Regions from separate parts of the Homo sapiens genome. Here region 2 is linked to region 1. Evidence: promoter capture Hi-C in 16 types of primary human blood cells and fetal thymus (Javierre and others, 2016). All regions are on one chromosome and are shown on one strand. Each heading gives the region's core, a stretch centred on a gene start or on the middle of the fragment in contact. The rest is flanking DNA. Distances are from core to core; before and after follow the strand shown.

Region 1 (3,453 bases), core at 377-2,876:
AAAGGTCTCTGGCCTTGGTTCCTCTGGCGGAGAATAAGCACCCTCAACTGACGCGCTGATGGAGGGGCAGGACCTGCATTAGCCGGAGCTACAGGAAAGCAGGGTACACATTGTCTCATCCTGGCTTTGTTACCACTTCTAACCCTGAGAATCTCTGGCGTGAGACTTCAAAGATCATCTGACTTGTCTCTGCCACCTTGTGCCTTTTGCTTAGTGACTTTGGGTAGGTCGCATCAAGTGCTCAGTAATCAAAGGGGTGGGGCTGGATGACCTCAGGCTACCCCTGGGCTTCCACCTCCTAATTGTCTCCAGATGGGGAGATGCCACACAACTTGGAAGTAGTAAGGTCTCCGGTGAGTCTGAAAGGCACATCTTTGCTGAAGACTTGTCACCTGCCCTCTTGAACCTTTGTTAGGGGGAATGACTCTCAGATTGGGGGGGGGGGGTCTATTTTTTGAGACAGAAAAAATTTTCAGAAGCCTAACTGGTGTTTCCCTTAGTCCCTCCTTTTGGCTAGGTTTAAAAGTACTGCATGCTAGAAAGCTTTCTCCAGGTCTACTCGCTGTTTTTTTCTGTAGTTTTCAGACCGCTCACGATGTCCTGTCCACTGGCTCAGGAGGGGGTGGCAGGAAGGGTGCCCTGGGCTTCTCCTCTGTAGAGGAACCAACCAATTTGGCTACCTGGGAGTAATGTGCAATCACATTTTTATTTTTGTCACCACCAGGGTGTCCTGTTGGACTCTCTCCTCTCATCCTCTCCCAAGGCGGCTGGTTGGTGTGGCTTTAGCAGTGGGTGCTATTATTTGGAGGTGCCTAGAGACTTAGAGTGGTGGCTGCACCATTTCGCTGGGTGGCTTGCGAATTGTCAGTCTGGTTCCTGAGAGCTCAAACTGAGATGGAAATGAGACCTGTTTTCTCTCTAGGCCGGCCGGGGCGTTCCGCACAACCCACTTGAGAGGCCCCACCGGCGTGGCCTTTAGGACGGTGCCTCTTGTCTTGTAATGGCCACCGGCCCTCCCTCGGGAGACACGCGGCCACCTGGGTGGGACGCTGCGGTGCTTACCTCCGGGACACGAGGTGGTCGCTGGGAGAGGGCTCGGAAGGCCCTGGGGGTCCTATCAGGACGCAGCACTGGGGAGACGTGGAATCTCCTCTTCTCACCCCCACAAGCCTCGCCCGCATCGTAATTCTTTTTATTTTTACTTTCGAGCCATGTAAGGCATGCAGATGGGGTAGGAGCGTTCCCGCGACACGTTGCCAGCAGCGCAGCGCCGGCCCGCTCGTGTGGCCGGAGCCCGGGGAGGGGACAGGGCACGCGCCGCCTGACCCACCTGCCCCACCGCCCACGGTCGCGGCCGCCCTGGGTCGCGGGACCCGCGCCGGTCACCCCCGCCCCGCGGGGCCCAAGAGGCGAGGCCGCGCGGCCCAGCCCCGGCCTCCGCCCTGGCTGAGTGCTGGGGCGCGCGAGGGGCGCGGGCAGGGTCCGCCCCGGCGGGTCAGTGCCCCGCGCCCCAGGCCGCTGGCGGCCAGGCCCACGTTTTCCCTTTCTCCGGCTCCCTCCGCCCTCCGCTCTGTCCCTCCCTCCGCCCTCCTCCCTCCCCGCGCTTCCCCTCCTCCTGCCTGGTCATGTGTCGCCTTTTTTTGTTTGCAGTGGAAACAATTTCTCGCCGCTCGGCGCGCCCCGGCCCGACGCGCCGCGGCGGAGGCGAGCGGGAGGCGGGACGGGGCGGGGAGAGCGGCGGGGCCGGCGGGAGGACGCGCGGCGCGCCCGGCGGACGCCGCAGGTCCCATGCCGCGCCGCGACCCCCGCGCCCCTGCCGCCCGCGCCCGCGGCCGCCCCCCGCCGCCCGCCGCCCCGGGCTCGCCGCGCCGCGCCCGCGCGTCCTTAGCGGGGCCACCGAGCGATGCCCGCCGGGCGCCCGCGAAAGTTTGTCGGCTCCTGCTGAAGGGCAGCGGCGCCCCCGCACCCCCGTGCCCCGCTCCGGCCAGGTGAGTTTGCACCCCGCTCCTGCCGGCTCCCGCGTGGGCTCGGGGGGCACCCGGGGCGGGAGGCGCGTCCGAGACGGTCCTGGAGACTACCTCGCCGCTCTGGGAAGACGAGGGACCCCGCAGGTCCTGGGGGGAGGGTCGGGTGTGGACCCCGGGAGCCCCCGAGCCGGGAAGTTGCCGGGTCCGAAGAGTTTCCTGCCCCGACGTGCGTGCTGCTTCCCGGTGCCTCGGTTTCCGAAAAGACGCCCGCAAGGAACAGAGTTGGTATTGTCTGCGGAGGACGGGGTCCCCGCCGTTCCGGGCCGGGGAGGGGGTTCCGATCAAGTGGAGACCCCAAGATGAGAAACAGGCTCCTAACAAAGATCACCCCCCGGCCAAACTGTGCAGACTTGGCACAGGCAACGAACGTCTCCGGAGACCCCCGAGGCCCGACCCCCCTCATCCCGGCCCTGTTTGAAACCCTCCTTGGGCCCTGGATAAGTTGGGGGACGGCGGGCTTTTATTGATTTGTTTTCGAGGCTCGCCGCGGTGCGGCCAATAAAAGGTTTATGACATCTGACCGGCAGTGAAGGTATGCGAGCTCCCAATTGCCCTGTATATGGGGATAAGAGCAGTTTCCCCCGTTGCCCGGCAACGCCGCTGATTGACGCGGGGTGCAGCCAATCGCCACTCCCGCAGGTCCCCTTGAAATGTTTTTGACAAGTACAGTAGACGAGAGTGAAGCGCGTGCGTGCGCGCGCGCGCGTGCTGGGTGGGCGGGGGTGACCCGGCCCCCCAAACTCGCTACTGCTCGGCTCTGGGAAGATTTCTTAACTTTTTAAAGTTCGCATCGAACATCTGTTCAGAGCTGGGCCAGTAATGTCTTTGTCAGTTATTTGGAGACCTTCTGTTTACTAGGCGAGAAACTAAGCTTTCTTGCCGCATTTTCTCCGTTAAAAAATAAAGAGGGTAACAAAACACAGCAAGTCATAAAAAAAACAAAAGAGGGTGTGTGTGTGTGTGTGTGTGTGTGTGTGTGTGTGTAGAGAAAAGTTGTAAGGAGGTCACCAGTGAATAACTATTTGCGTATCTGGTGGAGCAGCCTTGTTGGCAGCAGATTAAAAATGTTTGCTTAACTGCAACTCACATGATCCAGATTCTTTTTTTTTCCCTCTGAAACAGGAGGAAAAAAAGATTTGGCGAAATCTGTAGTTAGAGTATAATAATGGAAAACTCCTCAGCTGTGGTTTCTGGGAACTGTTTTTTTTTTTTTTTTTTTTTTTTTTTGGTTATTGTTGTTTTGTTTTGTTTTTACATGGAACTGTAGTGATCAGCAGCTCTTCACCCTGTTGGTATAAAATGCGGGATTTATAGGGATGCAGTGAGTGGTTGGAGAGTACGGGGTCCCAGCACAAAACGCACACATGATCCAAGGGTACTGAACTCCCATAACCCTCTCTTCGTGACAATGCCACTTTTTCTCCTA
Region 2 (3,453 bases), core at 632-3,131, 310 kb before region 1:
TCACACACACACACACACACACAGACACACACACACATTCTCCACCTACGGAGTCTGTTCACATCCCTGCTGACATGGTTAAACTGAGTAGCAACAGGCCTATATCCAAAAGTTTAAAGTCTGGTAGAAAGAGAGGACTTTTTTCCCCTTAAAAGTCCCAGTATGAATCCTGGGATTGAGTCTTACGGGCCTGTCCTGGGCCAATTAACATCCCTAAGCCAGGCCCCTGTGGTCAAGTGGAAGGAACCGTTGAGGTGACCCGGCCTGTACCAGGTGTCTGTCTTCATGCCCGGGGTTGGAGGAGGGGTTCAACTCCACTCAAACTATATGACCCGAGAATGTGGAAAGGGAAATCTAGATGCTGTTCCCTCGCCTCAGTTTGAAGGACAGAACACATACAAGGGAGACAAAAATGACAGACATTCCCTGTCACTGCCAGGAGAGCCGTCCATGGTAGACACTGGATATTATCTGATCTCAAAGTTGCAGGTAATCTATGTCACTGAATTGGATGACCAGTAGCCTGGTTTTGTTTGTTTAACAGCTTTGAATTCATGACTCAAGAAGCTGAGCCATTGCTGTTACATTTCTGAAGTGCAGCCATACGTTGACTTTTATTTTGATATTCATTTTATTCATTCAAAAAATATTAATGGAGCACTAATTATGTGTAAGGATCTTGAAATACACAGGTGAGTCAGTGTCGTGACCCTAGCTTACATTCCAGCAAGGGGCTTAATGCCCAGTGCCATTCAGTATAGATTTCCTTGACTATGTAAATTGCATGAAGCTTTTGAATATAATGGTGGATTTTCCTATAACACCATGGATAGAATTTCACATAGAAGCAGGTAGTCACTACATATTTGCTGATTTATTACACAATAGTAAAGATTCATCCTTCAGTATCATTCTTTTTCTCTATTGTTTATGTGCTCCTAGATCATTCAGATCATGAGTGATGGAAACTACCAGCTATATTTCCAAGAACAGTGATGCAACGCTATTCCTTATAGATGTTGGAAATGGAATTATTTGCTATGGGAACCCCATGTCTATTCATCATTTGCATAGTGTTAAACATGTGTGGGAATGGGAAGTCTCACAACTGCCTTTCTTCCCTTTATTTTTGCTACCTTTGATCTGGAATTTTAATCTTATTTGGTTAAATTATTTCTAGTGAGGTGTTCAAAGACTTTCAAGTATCTCTGCCTTTTGAACATTAGCTTCTTTGTGGTGTGTTTTTTCCTAATTATTCCAAATATAGTTTAATGACCATGAAAGCAGCAAAAAAATATACATATATGTTCTTGAATTTGATTTCATATTCACAGCTTCCTCTCAGTGCCTCTCTAGTTATTAGGTCTATTTCAATGTCATTTACAAGGTGCCTGCCAAGATTATAGTCATTTCAATACAAGTTACTATACATTTAGGGAATAAGTTGGTTCATTTGATTTAAACATGAGACCTCAGTATCTGTGTATATGCTGCTCAAAGCTCCTATTAGAGTTAGCTACAGTGCATTATTTAATATATATTTAGTAATTTGTTAATCAAATATTTATTGAATGCCTACTATGTGTCAGGTACTACTTTAGACACGGGAATACAGCAGAGAACAAGACCAAGTGCCTACTGTCAAGGAGCTTTCATTGTACACAGGGGAGAGAGACGATCATGCATAAATAAATAGGAACATATTATCATGTGCTATGAGGAGACATACGGCAGGATACAGGGTAAAGTCAGGGAAGTAGCTCTCAGGTTGAGGGGTGTATTTGTTTGTTAGAGCTGCCATAACGAAATACCAGAGACCATGTGTCTTAAATGACAGAAATTTATTCTTGCGCAGTTCTGGAGTCTAGAAGTCCGAGATCAAGGTGTCGGCAGGTTTGATTCTTTCTGAGACTCTCCTTGGTGTATAGCTGCCTTTTGTTGTGTGTTCACTTGGCCGTCTCTGTGTGTACCCACGTCTGGTGTACATCAGTGTCTGTGTTCTAACCTCCTCTTCTTAAAAGGGCACCAGTCCTATTGGATTAGGGTACACTCAAGTGAACTCAACATAATCACCTGTTTACAGACCCTGTCTCCAAATACAGTCACATCCTGAGGTAGTGGGGGCTAGGACTTCAACATAGGAATTTGGTGAGAATATAATTCAGCCCCTAGCAAGGGGGTCAGGGAAGACCCCTCTGAGGAAGGAAGACATCTGAACAGAGCTCTGAATAAGGGAACAAGTCATGGCTGTAGGTGAGTCAGTGGTGGAAGGATGCTCCCAGCAGGGGCACAGTGAGTACATGGGCTCCAGACTGGAGTCTGGGAGGCCACAGTGGCCACAGCCCAGGGAGACAGTGCAAGCATGCTACCCGTGAAGGCAGGGTCAGCCCATGAGGAACCTTGGAGGCGTGGTGAGGACCGAATTTTCTTCCAATTGTCATAGGAAGTCATTATAGTGTTTTGAGCAGGGCGGGGGACATAATCTCACACACATTTTTAAGGGATAATTTTAAAATTTATGACAGATTTTCTGTAGATTCCCGAGAATTTGGCAGGCAAGGTCATAATGATCATGAAACCCAGAAAAATTTCTTAGAATAGTTAAGATGCTCTGTTGGTTTTCTAGGAATTCTGTCCCTTGAAGATTAAGAGATCAGCTAACAATTACTTGGAATATTGTATTACTGCTCAAGTTTCTCCTGCCACGTTCAGTGATGCTGGCTTTACGACAAGAGAAATACCTGTGTTTATATACTCCTATGGAAGAATATCCTTTTCTTGAAGAATATTTTGGGTTAGAATAGTCTGGTATGTGGTAACTTATTTACAAGGAGTGATACTAAACTGACATGACTTTGGGACAACTTGGGCTAGGGCAAACTCTGAGGCATCTTTCCCACCTTTGACAAATGCCGTCTCTAGATTTACGTGAAGTAATGAGAGGGTAAGTGACAATTACTTTGGAAGCTTTCAGCAATTTGTTGCCAAAAGATAAAGGATCTCCACAAAGCAGTTCATACAGATCATTCCTAGACCCTATTCAGAATTAACCAAAGGCTTGGCATTTTTGGATAGGGTGCAGTGGCTCACACCTGTAATCCCACCATTTTGGGAGGCCGAGGTGGGTGGATCACCTGAGGTCAGGAGTTCGAGACTAGCCTGGCCAACATGGTGAAACTCCATCTCTACTAAAAACACAAAAATTAGTCAGGCATGGTTGTTCATGCCTGTAGTTGCAGCTACTCCGGGGGCTGAGGCACGAGAATCATTTCAACCTGGGAGGCAGAGGTTGCAGTGAGCCGAGATCATGCCACTGCACTCCAGCGTGGGTGACAGAGACTCTGCTTCAAAGAAAAAAAAAAAAAAGAATTAACCAAAGACTTGGCATTCTAAAGCCCCACACACAGGAAATCTGCATCCCATGAACCATCAGTGTGTTTTTCAAGTTGCTTA

Evidence for each region. Contacts are between HindIII fragments. The CHiCAGO score rates a contact against its expected background, and 5 or more counts as called.
Region 2: a contact is called between a fragment that was not itself captured here and the fragment with the promoter of FOXN3 in region 1, in 5 of 17 cell types (non-activated CD4 T cells, naive CD4 T cells, activated CD4 T cells and 2 more). The highest score is 8.1, in non-activated CD4 T cells.

Annotation. Positions count from the first base shown.
Region 1 is chr14:89,415,406-89,418,858 of GRCh38, reverse strand. It overlaps FOXN3 (forkhead box N3), which reads left to right and starts at 1,626. Exons shown (of 6, transcript NM_005197.4): 1 at 1,626-1,988. It overlaps FOXN3-AS1 (FOXN3 antisense RNA 1), which reads right to left and starts at 1,505. Exons shown (of 2, transcript NR_036500.1): 1 at 1,063-1,505. RefSeq lists silencers at 1,245-1,534, 1,575-1,784 and enhancers at 1,480-1,774, 1,399-1,931, 1,932-2,465, 2,480-2,774. The HindIII fragment of the contact is 2,355 bases long and covers 546-2,900 here.
Region 2 is chr14:89,726,231-89,729,683 of GRCh38, reverse strand. No RefSeq gene overlaps it. Among named protein-coding and RNA genes, the nearest start is that of FOXN3-AS2, 150 kb to the right of the region's middle. The HindIII fragment of the contact is 2,177 bases long and covers 793-2,969 here.